2 separate regions of the Homo sapiens genome follow, and region 2 is linked to region 1. The links are contacts of gene promoters, found by promoter capture Hi-C in blood cells and fetal thymus (Javierre and others, 2016). All regions are on one chromosome and are shown on one strand. The core of a region is centred on a gene start or on the middle of the fragment in contact, and the rest is flanking DNA. Distances in the headings are between cores, read along the strand shown.

The links. Contacts are between HindIII fragments. The CHiCAGO score rates a contact against its expected background, and 5 or more counts as called.
Region 2: a contact is called between a fragment that was not itself captured here and the fragment with the promoter of DENND5A in region 1, in 2 of 17 cell types (M2 macrophages and M0 macrophages). The highest score is 6.9, in M2 macrophages.

What each region holds. Positions count from the first base shown.
Region 1 is chr11:9,262,567-9,268,856 of GRCh38, reverse strand. It overlaps DENND5A (DENN domain containing 5A), which reads left to right and starts at 3,507. Exons shown (of 23, transcript NM_015213.4): 1 at 3,507-3,896. The coding sequence starts at 3,788. RefSeq lists enhancers at 3,206-3,275, 4,356-4,475, 4,636-4,975 and silencers at 3,556-3,655, 3,706-4,065. The HindIII fragment of the contact is 8,855 bases long and covers 1-4,204 here.
Region 2 is chr11:9,734,763-9,741,052 of GRCh38, reverse strand. SWAP70 (switching B cell complex subunit SWAP70) reads right to left here. Exons shown (of 12, transcript NM_015055.4): 8 at 2,733-2,840; 9 at 706-872. Among named protein-coding and RNA genes, the nearest start is that of SBF2-AS1, 20 kb to the left of the region's middle. RefSeq lists an enhancer at 478-597. The HindIII fragment of the contact is 1,613 bases long and covers 2,738-4,350 here.

The sequences.
Region 1 (6,290 bases), core at 2,258-4,757:
GCGGACCTTGCAGTGAGCAGAGATCACCACTGCACTCCAGCCTGGGCGACAGAGCGAGAATTCATCTCAAAAAACAAACAAACAAAAATACAAAAAAAAAAAAAAATTAGCCAGGCATGGTGCGCGCGCCTGTAGTCCCAGCTACTTGGGAGGCTGAGGCAGGAGAATCGTTTGAACCTGGGAGGCGGAGGTTGCAGTGAGCCGAGATGGCGCCACTGCACTCTAGCCTGGGTGACAGAGCGAGACTCTCTCAGAAAAAAAAAAAAAAAAAAAAAGAAAAAATCTTAAGAGCATCCCTTTCTATATTTTCTGACTCTCTAAGAAGCAATCACTCTGCCAAACTTATTTCCTACCGGGAAGGAGATCACTTCACAGTTGAGTATTCTGGGCTTCTGAGCAGTTACATTTCCCAGGGCAAATTAATACAGTTATGCATTCGTTTTTAACTTGTGTTTTACGAGTTGAGTTAATATGAGAGGTCGTCTAGCACCAGATCACCCTGGACACCTTGGATAAAAAGTTTCTGGACTTTTCAGTTGAGGACGTTTATTCCTTTCTCAAATTTCTTTTTCCACATCACCCCTAGAGTGATCATTCTCAGATTTGGGTCAGATATCACTCCTTGGCTTGAATTCCTTTACTTTACCTCACTCATCCTCAACTCATATATCTTATAGGATAAATTATTTCTAAAAAATACTATTTATTTATTTATTTATGACAGGGGTCACATTATGTTCTCCACTCTGGTCTCAAACTCCTGGGTTCAAGCAGTCCTCCTGCCTCAGCTGCCCAAAGTGTTGGGATTACCAGCGTGAGTGTGAACCACGACGCCTGGCCGAGGATAAATTCTTTAGCCTGGTATTTGAATCCATGCCTCCTTCCTCTGTTCTCCTTCTTCCTCCCCTGCCCTGGTTTCATTCCCTTTAAACTCTCCATCTCCCATCTTAATGTTAATGAATTACTTGTTGATGCCTGAACATACCCTTTTATCTGTTGCTCCCTGTTGTTACACATACTGAGTTAAACATCTTTCCCTGCCCCTTTTTACCTGAGAAACTTCCTGTTGATCCTCTGGAACTCAGGTCAGAGTATATACCTCCTTCTGGAAACCTTCCCTGACCATTCCCCAATCTGGAAAGATGTCCTCCTTCTGTGCTCTGTAACTTTCTTTTTTTCTTTTTTTTTTTTCAGGGTGTCTCTGTTGCCAGGCTGGAGTGCAGTGGCGCCATCTTGGCTCACTGCAACCTCCACCTCCCGAGTTTAAGCAATTCTCCTGCCTTATCCTCCTGAGTAGCTGGGATTACAGGCACCACCATACCCAGCTAATTTTTATAATTTTAGTACAGATGGGGTTTCACCATGTTGGCCAGGATGGTCTTGATCTCCTGACCTCGTGATCTGCCTGCCTTGGCCACCTAAAGTGCTGGGATTACAGGTGTCAGCCACCACGCCTGGCATATTTATTTATTTATTTATTTATTTATTTAGAGGTAGAGCCTCATTCTGTTGCCCAGGCTAGAGTGCAGTGGCACGATCTCGGCTTACTGCAACCTCTGCCTCTTGAGTTGAAGCGATTCTCCTGCCTCAGCCTCCTGAGGAGCTGGGACTAAAGTTGCCTGCCACCACACCCTGCTAATTTTATATTTTTGGTAGAGATGGGATTTCACCATATTGGTCAGGCTGGTCTTGAACTTCTGACCTTAAGCGATCCGCCAGCCTTGGCCTCCCCAAGTTCTGGGATTACAGGTGTGAGCCACCACGCCCAGCCTCTGTGACTGTTTAACTCACTAATCCCCCTCTACTGTCTCTGTGTCCCCAGCATGCAGGATACGGGTGGAGCATCACCATGAATGGGCGTTTTGAAGCAACCTTCTCCTCCCCACTTTTCTCCCCCTAGTTCAGGCAGGTTAGATACAGGGAGGAACAGGTGCTATGGCTCCGAGAGACAATGGCTATAACCTCTAGGTAAACCTCCCCAAGGGAAACAATATTTGAGAGAAGTACCCAGGAGAACCTAGGAGAGAGCCTAGGCTCAGCCTTTGGGGAAGCCAGCTGCCTTCTACAGCTCTTAGTGGCAGCCTCCCAGAACAAACCGTAAGAGTACTTCCTTCTGGAACAATAATAATAATCCAGGCTGGGGGCTCATTGGCTCATGCCTGTAATCCCAGCACTTTAGGAGGCAGAGGAGGGCGGATCACCTGAGGTCAGGAGTTCGAGACCAGCCTGACCAACACGGTGAATCCCTGTCTCTACTGAATACAAAAAATTAGCCGAGTGTGGTGGTGCGCGCCTGTAATCCTAGCTACTTGGGTGGCTGAGGCAGGAGAATCACTTGAACCTGGGAGGCAGAGGTGCAGTGAGCCGAGATTACGCCATTGCACTCCAGCCTGGGCAACAAGACAGAACTCCGTCTTGAAAAAAAAAATCTGTAATATTTACTGAGTGATTTCCATGTTCCAGGCAGTATTCTCATTGTTTTACCTGTACTTGCATTTACCTTATGTAATTGTCTCAAAAACCATGACGCCAGGCACTTAGAGATTAACTTGCTCAAGGTCAAAAGTAAATGATCGTCAGGATTGAAATCCGAGCATTTTTTTCTAGAGCCCATGCTAGTGACCACTATACCTGTGTTGCCTTTCTGGCCTCTGATCTCCAGTTTCCAACAAAGACACATCTGCCTAGCTTCTATGGGAAAGGAAATCGGAGGGTCCTAGGACAAGGACCAATAGGTAAGTTTCCCTTCGCCTCCTCCCTATCCTCTTACAGGAAAACAGGTTTAGGGGTGGATCTGAGAGTTTTCACAGAGTGAAGAGGAAGAGGAGCTCCCAAATGGCAGGCGCCTCTGGAGGCTTCCAGAGAAAAAAGGAGAGAGCGTGGGAAAAGGGCAGGCTGGGAGGTGGGAGCGGCGAGGAACGGGGAGCTGACCACAAGCCCAGGATTCCAGACCAGGCTTATGTCTCTTAGACTCAGCGTAACCTTGGATAAGTCCTTGCTTCTTTCTGAGACTCAGTTTCCCCGTCTGTAAAATAAGGGTAAATATAAAACCGGCTCATCCGCCCCTGCCAAAAGAGAGGACAGGGAGAAGGCCCTGTCTGGGGTCTAGGCTGACACGCTGCAGCTAGGATTAGGTGAGCTTCCGAGCTCAGTCGTGAGACCCCATCCTCATGGCAAGGCCGCGCTAAGATCTCTGGACCTCTGCTTGCTGGGTGGGTGGTTGGGGGCAGAGCATGGGCCAAATGCCCGGCTCTGCAGGCTGCGCCCACTCTTCTCGCACCTCCTCAGCCCTCCCTAAAGGAGTCTCAATCCCGGGGGAGTGGCAGTTGCGGGCGACCAAGCAGTCACCGGCTGCGCTGCGGCGACCTCCCGGGAAGCTGCGGCCGGCGGGGTCCGAAGAGCATCACGTCATCCTTTCCCCCAGGAGCCCGCCCCCTCCCAGACGGCGCCTGCGCAGGCGCGGTAGGAGGAGGGTCACGGTGGGGGCTGTCCACGCGCTCTCCGCCCTTCTCCAGGCTCGCTCGGGCCGCGGCGCTCTCGGCTAGCTGCAGCGGCGGCGGCGCGGAGGGGAAGGCATCCAGGATGCGGTGCGGGGCGGCCCGGTGCCCCCCCGCCCCGTCACGGCAGCCGCGGCGGCCGAGGGGACCGGGCCAGGGCCGGGGGCGGCGGCCCGAGCCGCGGTAGCGGCGGCGGCGGGAGGGGCGGCCTGAGGGCGGACGGGCGGGCGCCCGGGTTGCGGGGGCTCGGTGCCGCTCCGCACTGCCCGGCCGGTCTCGGCCCCGGCGCCATGAGTGGCGGCGGCGGCGGAGGGGGCTCGGCGCCCAGTCGCTTCGCCGACTACTTTGTCATCTGCGGACTGGACACGGAGACCGGGCTGGAGCCGGACGAGCTGTCGGGTGAGTGCGCGCCGAGCCCGGGGCGCTTTCCCGCGCCCGCTGTCGTCGGGGACCCCAGAAGAAACCTTCCTTCAGCCCCGCTTTGTCCCGGGAGCCGGGCGAGTGTCGGCCGGGAGGACCAGGGCGGGCGCGGGCGAAGGGGGCTTTGGACTGGAGGGGGGAAACGGATGAGGGGCTCTGAGCCATGAGGGGTCCAAACCTACGGCCCGCTGCGCAGTGGCCACGTCTTCGGCGACCAGAAAGAGGGAGGGTTGTGTGTTCTCAGTTTGGTGTAGGTTGAGTGACTTCGTTTAAAATAAAGGAAAGCTTGTCCTCTGGCACCCATTAGGGAGGGAAGGCGTCCCACGTCCTAGTGAAAGTAAGTTCCACCCAGACTTAAAAAAAAGGAAAACAAAAACTTGGTGAGTTTATCTGGCCACTTCCCAAGAAGCTTGTGATACTAGTTCCTCAAAACCGTTATACCCCAGCCCTGGGCTGGGCCCCCTGAGTCAGATTGCAGCTCTGCGCGTCTGGATGGGATATGAAGTAATAAAGTGAACTTGGGCGGCACCAAGAAGAGTAGGAACTCCCTTAGCCTTGGAAAGGGCTTGTATCCCGGGGCCATGCCTTTTTTGAAAAGTAATTTATGTCCTTTATGAGGACAGAGGCGTTTGTGAATAAAAGGGTAGCAGCATTGTAGTTGGAGAGGCTTGGTGTGTTCTGATGCGTTTCAAGTCATATTTGAAAGGGAAAGTGATGAGGGGAGTCAAAGATGGGGCCCTGACCAGATTTGGCACTCACTGCAGAAGGCCGTGAAAATTATACAGTCCCCGTGAATTTTCCACTGCACTGTCATTGGAGTCTTTGAATTGTAACAGTTTTGAAAATAAGTTTTTGTCTGGAGTTTCCAGTTAGTGGGTTTCAAGTGGGTGGAGGTTTGTCGGGTTGTACTTTAAGGTTGTGTCATCCTGATGAGGGGGACTCCTTTTCACTTTTCTGTCACTGTAAAGTTTCTCTTTCGAAAGTGATTATCCTGTTGACTAATCTTACTCGGCTTCAACGATGACAAGACAGTTTTGTTTTTGGGCACCAGAAAAAGTCCAGTGTTTCTTTTTTTTTTTTTTTTTTTTTTTGAGACGGAGTCTCGCTCTGTCGCCCAGGCCGGACTGCGGACTGCAGTGGCGCAATCTCGGCTCACTGCAAGCTCCGCTTCCCGGGTTCACGCCATTCTCCTGCCTCAGCCTCCCGAGTAGCTGGGACTACAGGCGCCCGCCACCGCGCCCGGCTAATTTTTTGTATTTTTAGTAGAGACGGGGTTTCACCTTGTTAGCCAGGATGGTCTCGATCTCCTGACCTCATGATCCACCCGCCTCGGCCTCCCAAAGTGCTGGGATTACAGGCGTGAGCCACCGCGCCCGGCCCAGTGTTTCTTATGAAAAAAAAATTAGGCGGGGCGCGGTGGCCCACCACCCGGCGGCTCAGGGGTAATCCCAGCACTTTGGGAGGCCGAGGCGGGCGGGTCACCTGAGGTCAGGAGTTCGAGACCAATTTGGCCAACATGGTGAAACCCCCGTCTCTACTAAAAATACAAAAATTAGCCGGGCGTCGTGGCGCGTGCCTGTAATCCCAGCTACTCAGGAGGCTGAGGTAGGAGGATCGCTTTAACCCAGGAGGGGGAGGTTGCAGTGAGCTGAGATTGCGCCAGTCTGGGTGATTGCGCCACTACACTCCAGTCTGGGTGATAAAGCGAGACTCTGTCTGGGAAAAAAGAAAAAGAAGAAAAAAGCATGATAAATTCATGCTTTAACAAGGTTAGAAAAAAATGAGCTATTTCCTCAATAGCAGGTGGAGAAAATATGAAGCAGTAATATAATTAATATTAGGCTTTTTGTCGGGGTAGTTTTATGGTTTCTAATTTACTTTAAAAAAATTTTAGTTTTAGGCCGGGCGCGGTGGCTCACGCCTGTAATCCCAGCACTTTGGGAGGCTGAGGCGGGCGGATCACGAAGTCAGGAGATCGAGACCATCCGGGCTTACAGGGTGAAACCCCGTCTCTACTAAAAATACAAAAAATTAGCCGGGCGTGGTGGCGGGCGCCTGTAGTCCCAGCTACTCAGGAGGCTGAGGCAGGAGAATGGCGTGAACCCGGGAGGCGGAGCTCGCAGTGAGCCCAGATCGCGCCACTGCACTCCAGCACTCTAGCCTGGGCGACAGAGCGAGACTCCGTCCAAAAAAAAAAAATTATTTTGATGAGTACCTAATAATTGTTCAAGTTTATCTTTTAAGGTCTTCAAATTCTTATAGTACAGATGTTTTTCATCTTTTTCATATGTAGTAAGTTTGTGACTTTGATGTAATTTTTGGAATTCGGTTCAGGGTATTGGTGTTGGAAGGGACCTCAGAGGGGAAAATGAG
Region 2 (6,290 bases), core at 2,295-4,794, 470 kb before region 1:
GTTGTCTCCCATCCCAGACACCTTAAATAATGTAAATGGGGCAGCAAAGTAGAAACTGGCAGAGGATAGGCTCAATTTTTCCCTTTGGGAGTCTTCATTTTATTTTGTCCTCCCTGCTGCCATGAAGGCCCAAAATTGAGAATTTTCATCTGCGAACATGACTATCATAAAGTTCTAAGGGGAAAAAAAATCTAGGTTTCAAATACTTTTAAAATTAGGATTTCAAGTAGTAATTACTGAAGGAATGTTACCAATCCTGAATGACCAAATAGAAACTGCATATTTCTTCCTTATTCCTCAAAACCTGACGGCAACGTTGGCCTGAACAGGCCTCTGCCTGCATACCAATGGCCCTCTCTGGTCTGGAGCGTGTTGAAGATGCCAAGCTCTTATCAGAGGTAATTCTGGGTTTGTGGATTTTCTCGAATAAGACTAAGGGTACCTCATCAAACATACCTACCAGACTGCTCTAAAATAGGCCCTTATTTAGCCCCAGAAGCAAGGGTTTCCCAGCGCCTCAGAATGAAAAGAAACACTCCAGCCGGTCGAGTCTCCACAGTCTTTCTAATCTGGACAGCACCTCGAGCTCAGTCACAGCCAGAGCAGAGACACTTCTCCCTCTCCACCAGAGTGTTAGTCATTCCAAGAAACTGTATTAGCCCAGGCAAAGTACATAAAGGCAAAGTCTGCAAACAAATCTGGCACCTGGCCTGAAGCTTCCGCACTGTCTCTTCATCTTGCCGGGCCTGTCTCTCATCTTCAAGAGCCTCCTGCAGCTTTAGGTACATGTCTTCCAGCTCCCGTACTCGCTGTAAATACTGTTCCAGTTCAGAGGACTTTTGAGCAACCTGTTCTTCCATCTGCTGTCTGATCTGTTGGTATAAAAGGGTCTTGTTTAAATGCAGGTTGACTTCTTTCTCAGGGAAAGCCTCACCTCCACCTGAGGGGTTGCCCACAGCTGCAGCCTCAGCCCATCAGGGTGGCAGGACCCTGTCCTTCAATCCTTGAACTTAAAGATGGAGGAGATGAGGGTACCACACCCAATCGCAATAGTGAAAGAGTCTGGGAAGAGCAAATTATAACCCAAATTATGTTCTGCCCTGCTGTATTTTCCATCCCTTCCACTCCACATTTTAAGACTCAAGTCAAGAAAAAAATGTTTCCTTGTGTAATTTCTCTCTAAATTCCTTTCTGTCTTAAAGTCACAATCTTTTTACCAATAGGGTCTTCTCTAAAAGGAACGAACCTTTTCCCAGTCAGAGCAAACGAACCTTTTCCCAGTCTTCTTTAGTGTTACACTAAAGAAGAAGGAAAGGTCATCCAGCATGGGATTCCTCCCACACTTCCCTGGCTGTCTCCACTCCCTGGGGCACCTCCAGCCCTAGAGGAACTCAAGCATTTCAGTTAATCTGTATACGTTAATGGTTTTTCCCTTCTGGATTACAGAGTTTTGAATCCCTGCCTTAAAAATTACAAGACAAGAACATCCTAAATATAACAAACACATTAGCCTATTTCTCTGCAGTTGATAAAATATTTTCACTTGCATTAGCTCACTCTGTCTTCAGAAGAGTCATGAGAGAGCATGTGATAATCCTGAACTTAAAGAAGAAAAAGCCAATGTTCAGTAAGAAGGACCAGAGAGGAAACAAGACCAGACATTCTGGCTGTTTCTCTACATCACATTTGCCTTCCTCTTTTCTCTGAACCACAAACACATCTCTTTCAACTCTAAATAACAAAAAGTGACTAGAGGAAATGTCACATGCATCTATTTAGGCACTGGGCTTAGCACTCTCTGACAGAGTATCACTCAATGTGAGAAGACCTGTGTTCCAGCTAACCAGCTAACTACCTAAGACAACCTGGATCTTGGGTCTCTTGAAGATGGAAGCCTCTAGGATGAACCGGAGCTGCCAAGAGCAACAAATCAGACTCTAGATGTTCTCACAATTTCAGGATCTCACCCCCGCCATCCTTGCTTATTACAGAGGAGATATACCATGGAACCTATGCTTACTTTTTCCATAACTATTTATTTTCCAAATCAGAACTGTTTTGAGAATGAAAAGGAATGTTATTAATAATTATACCAGAATGGCAGGGACTCTCCCAGGCAAACCAGGAAATATAGTCACCCTAACCAAGCATTTATCACATCATTCCACAAATTTCTTTTTTTTTCTTTTTTGGAGACAGGGCCTTGCTCTGTCACCCAGGCTGGAGTGCAGTGGCAAAATCACAGCTCACAGTAGCCTTGAACTCCTGGGCTCAAGCAATCCTCCCACCTCAGCCTCCTAAGTAGCTGGAACTACAGGCATGTACCAACAGGCCTGGCTAATTCTTTTTTTTTTTTTTTTTTTTGTAGATATTGCCCAGGCTGGTCTTGAACTCCTGGGCTCAAGCAATTCTCATGCCTTGGCCTCCCAAAGTGCTGGGATTACAGGAGTGGGCCACCATGCCTGGCTCCATAAATTTCCACTTAGGAGTCTTGAAAACAAGGTTTATGTCTTTTGCCATTACATCTTTGGCACACTGCCTGGCACATAGAAGGTGTTCAATAAACAGATAATTAATGAATGAACAAACATGCAACTTCCCCTACAGCCCATTCCAGGTCAGTAGCAAAGCCAAGCTGATGACATGCCTCACTGTAGCCTCCAGCCCTTCCCTGTTCCCACCGACCCAGGCTGAGCTACTGCAGCTGCTTTCTCCAGCCATGTGATACTCACAAGCTTCTCTCTTTCCAGCTCTGTGCTGAACCTGGCCTGAAGTTCCACTTGAGTCTGAAGGCGTTTCTTTTCCTCTTCTGCTGCACGAGATGCTGCTTCCTCCAGTTTCTAGCCAATCAAAAACCCATCCACAGAAAAGCAGGTGTTAGAGTAGAAGTACATTAAAGAGAGAGAGACAGTCATACTTAAGTACAGGAAAAGCCAAACATTCTTAACATTCAATAAAGATAATAGAATAAAAACTTTTAGCTCCATTAGAATTCCAGTCTAACGATCTGCTGAATCAACATACAAAATAAATTAGGTAAATGAAAGACTATTGATAAGCCTGAACAACATTTTGCAAAGAAAGTTTTAGTACAGTCATTGAATTAAATTCACTTGGGATTGCATTCATGAGATTTTTATTTATTTATTTATTTATTTGAGACTGAGTCTTGCTCTGTCGCCAGGCTGGAGTGCAGTGGCACGATCTCGGCTCACTGCAACCTCCACCTCCCAGGTTCAAGTGATTCTCCTGCCTCAGCCTCCCGAGTAGCCGGGACTACAGGCACACACCACCACATCCAGCTAATTTTTGTATTTTTAGTAGACACGGGGTTTCATCATGTTGGCCAGGATAGTGTCGATCTCTTGACCTCGTGATCCGCCCACCTCAGCCTCCCGAAGTGCTGGGATTACAGGTGTAAGCCACCATGCCCAGCCACATTCATGAGATTTGAGAGCTATTTCTTGAGCTCTTTCTGTACAGTTTTTTCATCTTATACATTATTCATTATAACTTTTACCAGAACCAATTTCTAGAAGGGTGGCATAAGGAGCTCCACAGACCCTTTCCCCAACAAAACAACCATAACTGGTGAAAATTATTGTTAAAAAAACAAAACCTTTAAAAGTCTCTAGAAATTATGCTAAGGACATTCTAAAATGGAGAACATTTATCTAAGAAAATCTAACTCTCAGTAAGAATCGTGAGGGTCTGTGGCATATGATGCACTCCCTCCCCACCCCCACAGTGTCAGTGAGAAGAAAGCTCTTCTCCTGGCAGATGGAACCCCAAACAAGGGTTCCCCTCCCCTCAGCTCAAGCCTAGGGCTATGATACCTTCCTGGGAGGGGCAGGCTGGCTGCCAGAATTTCTCTTTGTCCCCAGCTGCATGTTGCAGAAACTTTATTCCAGGCAAGAGTGGCTGAGAATTAAGAGGAGGCCAGAAGCTCCATGAGAACAACACACTAACACACGGACCAGCTAAAAGTGTTGTTGGTTTGTTGGTTGACTGCTATGAGGTCTCGCTATGTTGCCCAGGCTGGTCTCAAATTCCTGGCCTCAAGTGATCCTCCCACCCTGTCCTCCCAAAGTGATTAACAGGTGTGAGCCACTGCTCTTCCAGACCAGCCAAACGTCTGACAGACAGAACCAGAGAAAGAGACAGCTAAGAAGAGTTCTCATGTAGTAGGAACAAGTCTCAAAGACTGACCTTAAAGACTACATGTAGGCCTGAATTTAAATGATCTCAGACTGTGAGGCAATTCAGGTTCCAGGGCATTATGGAGAACAACAGAACAAAATTAGTGAACTCTAACAGCTGTTGGTGTGGTACCAACAGAGGTGGAAAGCTTAAATGAGAGATCAGAGAAAGACACTCAAAGAGAGCCCTGCAAAAATCAGGGTCTTCGCAGGGTGACTGTGTTCCTGTCCAAGCCTGTGCCTCTGAGGAGCAACAGTCAGAAGCTTCACACTGTGAGGAAAACAAACTTCACTGAAATAGTCCAGCCAAGTCACTAAACAAATAAAGGAGCAAACAACAGCAGGCCTCTGGGGAGAGGGGTGGAATCAGAATCCAGAGTTGCTACCACACATTATCTAAAATGTCTAGTTTTCTACAAGAAATTATGAGACATGCAAAGAAAAAGGAAAGTATGGCCCATATACAGGGAAAAAGCAGGCAACGGAAACTGCCTTTGAAGAGGCCCAGATGGTGGATTTAGCATATGAAGACTTCAAAGCAGTTATAAATATTTTATGCTCAAATAACTAAAGGAAACCATACTTAGAGAAGTAATGGAAGGAATGACAATATACCATAAAATAGAGAATAATAAAGAGATATAAATCACAGAAAAAACCAAATGGAAATTCTGGAAGTAAAAAGTCCCATAACTGAAACGAAAAATTCACTAGAGGGACTCAACAGTATATTTGGGCTACAAGAAAAATCTACTAAAGACAGATCTATAGAAATTATGCAACTGGAAAACAGAAAATAAAAAAGAAGAAAAATGAACACAGCCTTAGAGAAATGTGGGACACCATTATGTGCACCAACATTTGCATAACGAAAGTATCAGAAGAGGGAAAAAAAAGTAGAAAAAATATTTGTGGCTGAAAACTTATCCAGCTTAAGGCAAAACATTAATCTACATATTCAAGTTCAATACACTCTAAACAGGATAAACACAAAGAGATCTACACCCACATACACCACAGTAAAACTGTTGAAAGACAAAGACCAAAAAATAATCTTAAAAGCAGAAAAAGAAAAATGATTTACCACACACAAGGGAACTCCTGCAAGCTTGACAGCTGACTACTCATCAGAAAGTTCTGACTAGTTCTCACCAAGATATTATCAATAGAAGTACAGTGTGACATTTCTAGGCTGGAGCACCGCATTGCCAAACCCTAGAACACTTTTTCTTCCGGCACAGTGAATAGCAACACTCAAGATGGCGGCTGGTCCATCAGCCCGGATTTCATAATTACACACTTTGACCCAGCATTCCCACTTCTGAGAATTCATTCCCTAGAGATATCAGAACATGTATGAACACATATACAATGACACAGGTACAAGATTATTCCCTACAGCATTACCTATTAAAACAAAAGATTAACACAACCCAAATGTTCACTAACAGGGAATGACTAAGTAATGACACAGTTGTATAACAGAATATTCTACAGCCATAAAAAAGAATGAGGTAACTCTCTTTATACTGATATGAAAAGATCTAAAAAATATATTAAGTGAAATAAACTGGAGGCAGAACAGTGACACTAGTATATACTTTTGTGTGTTTAACAAATGGGAAAATAAGAATGTATATTCATATTTCCTTACCTTGGGCAAGGGGTGGAAATTCATAAGTGGGGGAGGGGGAGAAAATCTTTCACAGCTGCCTTTTTATATTTGTATATTTTTGAACCTACCCAAATGATTATATTTTTTAAAAGAAACAAAAGTAGAAATAAAAATTTAAGTAAATTCTTTAAGTAAATCTATTAATTTATAAAAACTACCATGATTTCTTATTCCTTCTTCTAATTAAAATGAGGCCTGTCAAATTTTAAGAAACCCACAGATATGTAACCTAATTCCAGATGATTAAAAGATTCAGCTGGGCATGGTGCCTCATTCCTGTAATCCCAGCACTTTGGGAGGCTGAAGTGGGTGGATTGCTTGAACCCAGGAGTTTGAGACTAGCCTGGGCAACATGGCAAAACCTCATCTCTATTAAAAATACAAAAAAATTAGCCAGGTATGGTGGTGCACACCTG